2 separate regions of the Homo sapiens genome follow, and region 1 is linked to region 2. Evidence: promoter capture Hi-C in 16 types of primary human blood cells and fetal thymus (Javierre and others, 2016). All regions are on one chromosome and are shown on one strand. The core of a region is centred on a gene start or on the middle of the fragment in contact, and the rest is flanking DNA. Distances in the headings are between cores, read along the strand shown.

What was found. Contacts are between HindIII fragments. The CHiCAGO score rates a contact against its expected background, and 5 or more counts as called.
Region 1: a contact is called between the fragment with the promoter of OSM here and the fragment with the promoter of ZMAT5 in region 2, in 1 of 17 cell types (neutrophils). The highest score is 5.3, in neutrophils.

What each region holds. Positions count from the first base shown.
Region 1 is chr22:30,265,316-30,270,295 of GRCh38, reverse strand. OSM (oncostatin M) reads left to right here and starts at 3,445. Exons shown (of 3, transcript NM_020530.6): 1 at 3,445-3,530. The coding sequence starts at 3,497. RefSeq lists enhancers at 4,042-4,141, 4,202-4,281. The HindIII fragment of the contact is 8,742 bases long and covers 1-4,980 here.
Region 2 is chr22:29,765,627-29,771,388 of GRCh38, reverse strand. It overlaps ZMAT5 (zinc finger matrin-type 5), which reads left to right and starts at 4,382. Exons shown (of 6, transcript NM_001003692.2): 1 at 4,382-4,517. It overlaps UQCR10 (ubiquinol-cytochrome c reductase, complex III subunit X), which reads right to left and starts at 4,020. Exons shown (of 2, transcript NM_013387.4): 1 at 3,841-4,020; 2 at 976-1,711. The coding sequence starts at 3,990. The coding sequence ends at 1,670. RefSeq lists enhancers at 3,889-3,938, 3,848-4,497, 4,299-4,528, 4,498-5,147. The HindIII fragment of the contact is 8,045 bases long and covers 914-5,762 here.

The DNA.
Region 1 (4,980 bases), core at 2,196-4,695, 500 kb before region 2:
TGCAGTGAGCTATGAAAGCACCACTGTACACTTAAGCCTGGGCAACACAGCAAGACTTTGTCTCGAAAAAGAAAAAAAAAAGGAATAATTAAGGTAAAATGTGAGTGGGCCCTAATCCAATGTGAATGGTGTCCTCATAAGAAGAGATAAGGCCAAGCGCGGTGGCTCGCTCCTGTAATCCCAGCACTTTGGGAGGCTGAGGCAGGTGGATCACCTGAGGTTAGGAGTTCGAGATCAGCCTGGACAACATGGCGAAACCCTGTCTCTACTAAAAATACAAAAATTAGCCTGGCGTGGTGGCACACGCCTGTAATCCCAGCTACTCAGGAGGCTAAGGCAGGAGAAGCGCTTGAACCCAGGTGGCAGAGGTTGTAGTGAGCTGAGATCGTGCCACTGCACTCCAGCCTGGGTGACGGAGCTAGACTCTGTCTCAAAAAAAAAAAAAAATCGATTAGGCCACGGACAAGCAGAAGGAACATGATGTGGAGATACGGGGAGAGACAGTCATCTACAAGTCAAGGAGAGAGGCCTTGGGAACCAGCCCTTGATTTCAGACTTCAGCCTCTAGAACTGTGAGAAAATAAATCTCTGTTACGTAAGCCCCCCAGTCTGTGGTACTTTGTTATGGGAGTCCTAGCAATGTAATCTACCTGCTCTCCTTACCTTCAGTGACTCTGAGCCCTGGGCCCTGTGCCTGACACCCTCATTAACTATGTGCAAAGAGTATGGTCTTTGGGCCTCGTTTGAATGCCTTCTTTTCTTGGTGGGTTTTTTGTTTTTTGTTTTTTTTAAACAGGGCCTTGCTCTGTCACCCAGGCTGGAGTCCTGTGGCATGATAATGGCTCACTGCAGCCTCAACCTTCGGGGCTCGAGCGATCCTCCTGCCTCAACCTCCCTAGTAGCTGGGACTTCAGGTATGCACTACGATGTCTGGATAATTTATTTTTACATTTTCTGTAAAGACACAGTCTCGAAGTCCTGGGCTCAAATGACCCTCCTGCCTCGGCCTCCCAAAGTGCTGGGATTACAGGCGTGAGCCACCATGCCTGGCCAAATGCCCCTCTCCTCTTAACTATTCATAGGTGACCTCAGACAAAGCAACCTCCTCTCTCTGCCATGAGGAGACAGCACGGCCTCCCTGGACCACAGGATAGATAGAATAAGATAAAGGCATGTGGCTGTTTCTCACCAAGCGTGGTGGTCGGTCAGCCACAGCTGAAAATGGCCTAGACCCCTCTGCTCAGATCTGGCGCTCCTTCCTTGAGCCAGCCCCTAAACTTCCCAGAGCTTCGAGCTCCTCACTGAAGTGAGCTGAGGTGTCACTGCCCAGCGGCTTCTCTCCCCTGGCTGTTGCAGGATGAGATCGGTGGCTGGGTGCTGTGGCTCACGCTTGCAATCCCAGCACTTTGGGAGGCCAAGGCAGGAGGATCATTTGAACCCAGGAGTTTGTTATCAGCCTGGGCAACATAGTGACACCCCGTCTCTACAAAAAATAAAAAAATTAGCTGGGCATAGTGATGCATGCCTGTGGTCTCAGCTACTCAGGAGACTAAGGCGGGGAGCCTTGCTTCAGCTTAGGAGCTGGAGGCCACAGTGAGCTACCTACAATGGCGCCACTGCACTCCAGCCTGGGTGACAGAGCAAGATCCTGCATTTAAAAAAAGAGAAAAAAAGACGAGATCAGGGATGTGAAATGGAGAAGGATCCCCTCTTGGCATGGCCCCAGGAAACAGCATTGTGGGGGTGGGCACAGAGATGAGGACTTCAGCGGAAGCGACATTCTCAGGATGAGAATCCAGAACTGGCCCCTGGGGGTGGTGAGGGGGAGGTATGAGGCCTGGTGTGGTGAGTCCCAGCCTGGGTGCCGGGGAGTGGGTAGGGGCTGAAGAGCAGCCTCCTGGGCGTGGGGTCGCCTATTTTTGCCTACTACGTGATCCTCAGACCTGGGAGTGGCTGGTGCAGCATGGAGCCAAATAAAGGTTTGTCGAATGAATAAATGAGTGATGGGGAGAATGGGTGGCAACTGCCTTGGTGGCCACAGTGGGCATCGGGAGCAGGCATGGACAGGGGTGCATCCAACCTCCTCCTTTCTGGCTGCCCCAGCTCTCCTTGCTCAGGCGCCCCAGACCCCATGCTCCCTCCAGCTGGAGCAGCTCAGGCCTCCCTGGCAGCCTCCAGGAGTCCCACCCTGACTCCCCAGACTCCTGAGGGCCTCCTCCCACCCGGGCTTCTTAGGGTGCAGGCCAAGGACCCTCCTCTGGGCCTGGGAGATGTGCTGACCAGGCAGGGTCTATAGGCCTGGGCCAGCCTCTTGGCCTCCCTGTCTGCCTTCACCCAGGCCTCAGTTTACCCCACAGTAAAGTAGCAGTTTGACTAGGGAGGCGCTGTTCCCAGGGCCCTTTCGCAGAGGACCAACCTAAGATCGCTATCTTTCAGAGAAAGTGAAACCTGGTCCCCAACTGTCAAGGCGGCAACTCCCCCTCCCCGGCTTCCCCTCTGAGCTCACAGCTTCCCCATCTCCTCCTTCCCCCATCCCGCCCCCTCGACAGCTAATACTTGGAATCAGACCTTCATCTTTGCTTTTTCCTTCAGAGGTCTTTTCCTTTTATGTCCATGCTGGCAGCAACCCTGTGAGGTGGGCTGGGAAAGGCTTTTCTCCTCCTCATTTTATAGTTGTGGGTCTCTGAGGCCCAGAGAGGTTAAGTGACTTGCCTCAGGTCACACAGCACCTCAGCAGGCTTGAACCCTGGCCTCCTGTTTCTCTTGCTCCAAGTGTCCAGTTCTCCCCAGTGGAGCCTGCCTACAAAGACAAGGCCTGGCTTTGGGGAGTGGGCCTGGCAGAGGGTGCACGATGGGGGAAAGGAGACCGTCGGGAGCCGGGCTGGGGGATGCTGGTCCTGGGGCCTGAACCACAATCTCGGGGCTGCCAGCCTGCGTCTGGCTCTGTGCCCAGAGCCCGGTGGTTTCCGCTCACAGATGTCCCAACAGCCCCGGCGAGAGGGCAGGAAGGGCACTCAAGAAGGAAGATGTCTCGCTCCCCTCAGCCCCCAACCACCGTGTCCTGTGAGGCCAATGGCTCCTGGGCCAAGACTGGCCTGGGGCCTCCAGAGGCCCAGCTCGAAGTCCCTCCTGCCCATCCCTGGCCCAGTTCCCTGAAGATGGCATGGACCCTTTTCCTCCCCACTCACCCTAGGAAGGCTGAGGCTGCGGTTTTACATCATCCTTGGGCGTAGGGCTGACCTCGAAGAACGAATTCGAAGAAAACAGGAGGAGGAGCGGGCATACACCGCGCCCTGCGCCCATTGGCCGCCCGTGGAAATTTTGGTTTTTGGGGTCATGTTCCCAGAAGGCCTGCCCTCCCCCCTCCCCATCCCCACCCACCTCATGAGGTGTTGGCCAATCGCCCCAGCGGGCATAAAGTGGCTGCCAGCCTGCAGGGCTCCCAGCCGAGAGGTGTCACCCCCAGCGGGCGCGGGCCGGAGCACGGGCACCCAGCATGGGGGTACTGCTCACACAGAGGACGCTGCTCAGTAAGTACTTCCTTCCTCCCCGCCAGAACCCGCCTGCTGGGTCTGCCCACGGGTGCCGGTGGGGAGCAGAGGCACCCTCTGCCCTCCGGGAACTGGGGAGGCCAGGCGCCAGGCAGAAGGATGCTGAGAAGGGGAGAGAGCCAGGAGGTCAGGCAGAGAGAGTGGTCCACTGAGAACCTGGCATCTCCACAGGTAGAGAAGGGGCATCCCTGGAAGGCTTCCAGGGGGAGGTGATGTCAAGATGTAGAGGCAACTCTGGGAACCAGGGGGTGAGAGAATAGGATGGGCAAAGAGGCTGGGCAGGAGAGGGAGGCTCAGAAGCTGGGCAGGGAAGTGGTGTGAGGTGTGGAGGGGTTGTGGGGCCTCCAGCTTGCCCGGGATGAATAGAAAGTCAGCCAGGCCTGGGGGCCCCAGGGCCCACACAATCACACAGCATGCACAGCCACACCCACATGGCCACATGCGCACACAGCCATATGACGTCATCTACAGCCCTGGATCTCACCAGCCCAGGAACCCCCACATGCAGACCAGAGTCCCCATGGTGAACGGAACAGGTCTCCCTCACGCCGCACACAGACCCAGATGCACAGCCACACAGAAACCCCAGTCCCACGTGCGCTGCCACAGGCACAGGCCCCTGCCAGAGCCCGGCAGCAGATACCTGGGGAGGCGGCGAGGGTGCCGTGGGGTCGCTAAGCCTGGGTGCCTGGCCCCTTGGCCCTCCCCAACAGCCAGTCTTCCCCAAAGGGCCGGATGGTTCTTAGGACGGGAACGATGGTGTCACTGCCTTCCGGGCCATTGCGCCATAGGCCCCTTCCGACCACGTGGCTGCCGGTGCCCCGTTGGGGGTGGTGGTGAGCGGTAACTGTACCCGCCCCCAACACCTTCTGACAGGCTCACAGCATCCCTGGTGGGCCTGACAGAAGGAGCCACTTATGGAGAGAGGAGGGAGGCAAGAGAGGTCAGGGGAGAGCCCTGGCCTTGTGTGACCTGAGTAGGACCTTCTCCTGAGACTTGGTTTACCTGTCAGGAAAGTGGGGACATGGACTGGAAGGTCTTCCACATCTGTTCCAGGCTGCACCTCTGGTTGAAAAGGCAGCCTCTCCTGGTTCTAGACAGAGCTGAGGACACAAGCTGCTCCCGGGCTGCCTGCCCTGAAGCCCTCTCAGGCCCATCTACCTGGATGGCCAGAGCAGCTGACAAGGCAGGTCCTAGGGCAGTGGCCGGTCTTTAGCCCAGTGGTCTTGCAGGGAGCCAGTCCCACCTTGCAGAGAGTCAGCTCCCGAGGTTAGAACCGTGCTGTAGGCAGGACTGGGATCCGGCCAGGCACTGCAGCCTTTGCTCAAAGACCTACTTGGTAAATCGCAGCCACTGTCTCAGTCCCTCCCACTGCTTGCTGTGTCAGGCCCTGGGCAGTGACTTACTGGGGAGATGATGGTGGCCTTGG
Region 2 (5,762 bases), core at 3,133-5,632:
ACACTATGCCCAGCCAAAAATTTTTAGAGACAGGGTCTCACTCTCCCCCAGGCAGGAGTGCAGTGGCACAATCATAACTCACTGTAACCTTAACTTCTTGGCTCAAGTAATCCTCCCACCTCAGCCTCCCAAGTAGCTGGGATTATAGGCTGGTGCCACCATGCTCAGGTAATTTTAAATTTTTTTGTAGAGGCAGGGTATCTCACTATGTTGCTTAGACTGGTCTTAAACTGTTGGCCTCAAGCAATCCTCCCACCTCAGCCTCCTAAAGTGCTGGGATTACAGGCCTGCAACTCCTTTAATACTCCCAAAAATCCCACACAGTATGTTCTACTACCCCATTTTACAGATAAGGAAACCGGAGTTCAGCAAGTTCAAGTGCCTTGCCCTTGTGTATTAGTCCATTTTCACGCTGCTGATAAAGACATACCCGAGACTGGGTAATTTATAAAAAGAGGTTTAATGCATTCGCATTTCCACATGGCTGAGGAGGCCTCACAATCATGGTGGAAGGCGAAAGGCCCGTCTTACATGGCAGCAGGCAAGAGAATCAGAGCCAAGCAAAAGGGGAAACCCCTTATAAAATCATCAGATCTCGTGAGACTTATTCACTATCACGAGAACAGTGTGGGGGAACCGCTCCCATGATTCAATTATCTCCCACCGAGTCCCTCCCACAACACATGGGCACTATGGGAGCTACAATTCAAAACGAGATTTGGGTGGGGACACAGCCAAACCATATCACCTTGGTTCCCATAGCTAGAATCAGTGGAGTAAGGATTCAAACCCACCAACTAAGCACTTTTATGAACTGAACTCATCAGAGTGGAACTGTGGCAGGAGGCTGTGACCCAGAGAGGTATGACTGCTTACCAAAAGATACTCAGTAATAGGCAGAATACACCAAGCTTGTCCAACCCGTGGCCTGCAGGCTGCACGCAGCCCAGGATGGCTTTGAATGAGGCCCAAACACAAATTCTTCAACTTTATTAAAACATTATGAGATTTTTGCACAAACCATTGTTTTTTGTTTTAGCTCATCAGCTATGGTTACTGTATTTTATGTGTGGCCCAAGACAATTCTTCCAACATGGCCCAGGGAAGCCAAAGGATTGGATACCCCTGAACTATACCCTAGGGTGGGGAGTGGCTAAGACCCCTAGGCCAGGGTCTTTCCCCCAGCTGAGGCCATAGTGCTTCCCCATGGCCAAGACAGTGAGGTATTTAAGAATGGAATTACTGGCTTAGAAGCCAAAGTTGACTGTAATATCTCCAACTCTGGCTCCTGTTTTGAAAACCAGAATTCTTTGGAAGTTAATGGAAAACTCAAAATAGCAGATTCTGCCTTTGGGGTGTTTGCAGAGGGCTTTGAAGTGGTCTCAAATTACTGACAAGTGAAGATCAGGTAGAGTTAACAAAGCAACCAATGTAGAAGCAGGTCTCAAGGGCAATTCACATTTATTTCCTGAGCATGCTGACTAAACATACTTCAAACACAGCAGAAGGTAAAGAGTCTGTTTTGTAAGTAAAGCCGTTTCTTGCCAACAGCGAATGGTGGTCCATGAAGAGTACCTTGAGCATCATCTTCAAGCTGAGGCTCCAGCTCTGGGCAAACAGCTGCTGGGTGGACCTGGTCCTTCTGGCCTGGATGGGGGCCTCCAAGGAACTACTTGTTCTCATACTTGTGCTTGATGTGTTTCCACAGCTTCTGCATTTTAAAGACAAGAGCCACAAACTTTGACCTTTGCCTCTCACATTTTACAACTACTCCCACTGCCCTGGTCTCTAAAATGAGCTTGGGGGAAACACATGCCATGTCCTGATTAAAAAGATACACTTGTGGTGGGCAAACTCGAAGCAATCCTATGCTTGATGCACATTTTTTTTTTGAGACGGAGACTCGCTCTATCGCCCAGGCTGGAGTGTAGTGGCGCAATCTCGGCTCACTGCAACCTCAGCCTCTTGGGTTCGAGCGATTCTCCTGCCTCAGCTTCAAGAGCAGCTGGGAATACAGGTATGCGCTACCCGGCTAATTTTTGTATTTTTAGTAGAGATGGGGTTTCGCCATGTTGGCCAAGCTGGTCTCAAACTCCTGACCTCAAGTGATCTGCCTGCCTTGGCCTCCCAAAGCGCTGGGATGACAGGTGTGAGCCACCGCGCCGAGCCTTCATGCATAATTCTTGGCATTTATAAAATACTATGATGCTTTCAATCACCAGGTGAAGTAAGTGGAAAGGGGTGATCTTAATTTCACAGGAAATTCAGTTTGAGATTGAGGGAAGTGCCCCAAAACACACAATTATTAAGGAAAACAGCCTGGAAGATGTCTCAGTTCTTCAACTCCCAGGTATTACTGAAGAGATTATAAGTGCGTAGTCCCAAAATATTTCACCATGAGCCATTTAAGACATTTCCTGGGACCTAAATTGGCTGAAATTCTCATTCCCAGAAGCACAAGAGGTTGAGCACAGTGGCTCACGCCTGTAATCCCAGTACTTTAGAAGGCTAAGGCAGGAGGACTGCCTGAGCTCAGGAATTCAAGACCAGCCTGGGCAACATGGTGAAACCCCATCTCTACAAAAAATACAAAAATTAGCTGGGCGTGGTGGCGCATGCCTGTGGTCCCAGCTACTCAGGAGGCTGAGGTGGGAAGATCACTTGAACCCAGGAGGTCAAGGCTGCAGTGAGCTGTGATCATGCCACTGCACTCCAACCTGGGCGACAGAGTGAGATCCTGTCTCAAAAAAACAAAACAAAACAAAAAAAAGCACAAGGAAAATGGGTGAGTTATAACAACATACTTGGATGTCTCTCCAGATCAATGGGAGTGGTTAACAGAACCACTTGCAAGAGATGGGACAGTAGCAATGCTTTCATATGGGGCAGGAAGTTGCACTGGTCACAGGCAGCATAGCACTAGTGGACAGTGCCTTCCCGGGCTGCAGAGTCAGACAGTCTCAAATTAAAAACACAAGTGAGTGGTGGAACAGGGCTATATGTATAAGGCCTACTCCAGCACAGTCATAATTTAGCGATATAAAGCATGCACTGCACCTAGCACAGTGCATGATACATAAAAGTCAAAAATGTGTTGCGATTCCTACCTCATGCTTCCACTTTCTCCTGAGGAATGTAAGCAATGATTATTTTTCAGTGGTACCACCTACCAGGCATGTGGCACCCTGCCTGCATCTCATGTAATCCTCACAATCGTGCTCAGGTTACTATTAATATCTCCATCTCACAGTTAAAACGGAGTTCAGAGAAGAAACTTGCTCAACTTAATGCCACAGTTAAGTGACAAGGACCAGTGTTCCTATCCAAGGCTTTCTGATTTCATAGCCCCCACTCTCAACCATTAATACCAACTGTCTACGTGGGAAGCCTTGGGGACCAGAAGCGCCGTCTGAAACTTCAGCCACGGCGTCTAAGGTGTCTAACGTCCTTTTCACGACCGTCGCCTGCTCAAATCTGCCCTTGAAACTCTGAGAGACAGGGGTCCCGTTTCTGGCCCTGACTTGCCCCTGGCTTCCTGTGCAGCTAGTAAGTCCTTTGCTCTCACTAGCCTTTAGTTTTTGCTTCTGATAATGGGCAAGTGGGTATGTAGGGTGGCACACAGCAATACTTACAACCCCTGCAAAATGAAATATATTAACCTCGCTTAACGTTTTAGAATTCACATCAAGCCAAGGGGACAGACGGCGGACTCGAGACAGAAGACGCCGACGGTTTACCCCTTACCCCCTTCCTGGTAAAAGTATACTGAGTCCCATCCCACCTCTACTCCACTGTCACCCCTCAGGCGGGTCCAAGGTCAGGGATGGCACAGGCCCTCACCCCCTCGTTGATGTGGTCGTAGATAGCGTCCGCGCCTTGATCGAAGGCGCGCTCGAAGAACATGACGCCCACGATGATGGTGAGGGCGAAGGTGGAGGTCCTGCGGAACAGCAGGGAGTACAATTTCGAAGTCAACGTCGCGGCCGCCATGTTTCTTCACAGTCCAACTCGCGCCACCGCGCCTGCGCTGGGGCCGACCTCGTTCCCCAAAGGCCCTAGACGTGCAACACTTTATGGGATTTGTAGTTCCTCTGAATCTCAGCCTTCGTGTTTTGAACCACAGAGGTATTCCTATCCTGGGAATGAGGAAAAAAACTCAAAAGGTTCATATCAGGACAGCCCAGATAATCTGATAAGATTTATTACCCAATTTTTCTTCTCCAGAATTCCTGGCTGTTAGAATATGTCAAACTACAACTCCCAGAAGCCCTCGCGCGCCATCACCTTCTCCCCGCCCTCCGCCCAGTCCCGGCTTAGATTCCCAAAGCTCTCTGGGAAGGGCGAACTGATGGCCAAGGCGAGACTACGAATCCCAGCAAGCAGTACGCGACGCGAGGACGCAGGAGGAGGAGCCCGGAGCTGCAGCCACCGGGGAGCCAGGTACCTTCCGCGAGACGTCGAGGGGCGAGTCCTAGTCTCTTTTCTCCGCACTGGAAGACTTGAACACTTCCTTCTCTGTGCGTACGCCCTGCGGCGGGACGCACCATTTCTTGGGATAGGGTGTGGATAGAGGGGCGAGGGCAGCTGGGTTCCCGAGACCCTGGCTCAACTCTTCGCCTTGTCCCCTGCACCAGCCCCAAGTCTAGGCCAGGAGCTGGAGCCTGCGGCAAAAGTCTTGTCCTGGAGGTTAAACCCTTCACCCTGGATTAAGGGCAGGGACGGATCTGCCCTGCTTCCTGTTCCTCTCACCCCTGGGCTTCGCACCGGGCAACCCTGGTTTGGAAGGCTGGAGACTTGGAACCTGCTTGGGATTGAAAAGAGCAAGGGCTTTGGAGTACCTGGGGCATTCAACAGATGTTTTCCCAGCGCCTGTTCTGGTCCCTGCTCTGGGGACCCAGCAGTGAACAAAGTCCTTGCTCTCACAGAGCGCTCAATCTACGGAGTGGGCGGGTGGGGAGATGCAGTACAGCAAACAGATAGTGCTTTGGTTGACTGGAGAGGCAGTGGTGGTGACATTGCACCCTGGGTAGCTGCTCTGGGGGGTGACACTTGACTAGAGACCTGAATGAATAGTAGAGTTGAACAGGAAAACGTTGGTGCAAAGGCCTTGAGGCAGCTACAGTCCTGGGATGTTTGAGGGAAAGAAGTAGAGTGGACTGTGAAGAGGTTGACTCCGGTCAGCTCATGTCTGGCCTTGGAACCCACCTTACGGAGTCTTGTTTTCTTTGGTTTTTGTTTTTAGAGACAGGGTCTCACTGTGTTGCCCAGGCTGGTCTCCAACTCCTGGGCTCAAGCAATCTTCCTGCCTCGCCCCCCAAGGTGCGTGAGCCACCGCGTCTGGCCAAGGAGTCTTGTCTTTTTCTAGTTGCACTAGGAGGCCATTGAAGGGTTTTCAGGAGAAATGCGACAAGATTTAATGTGCACTTTAATGTCATCATCCTGGCTGGTCTATGGAGAGTGGACCGCAAGGGGGAAGTTATTGTAGTAGATCATTTGAGGGAAGATGGGTGGTTATTTATTTGAGATGGAGTCTCGGTCTGTCGTCCAGACTGGAGTGTAGTGGTGCTATCTCGGCTTACTGCAACCTCCGCCTCCCGGGTTCAAGTGATTCTCCTGCTTCAGCCTCCCGAGTGGCTGGGATTACAGGCGCCTGCCACCATGCCTGGCTAATTTTTTTTTTTAGTAGAGACAGGGTTTCACCATGTTGGCCAGGCTAGTCTCAAACTCCTGACTTCAGGTGATCCTCCCATCTTGGCCTCCCA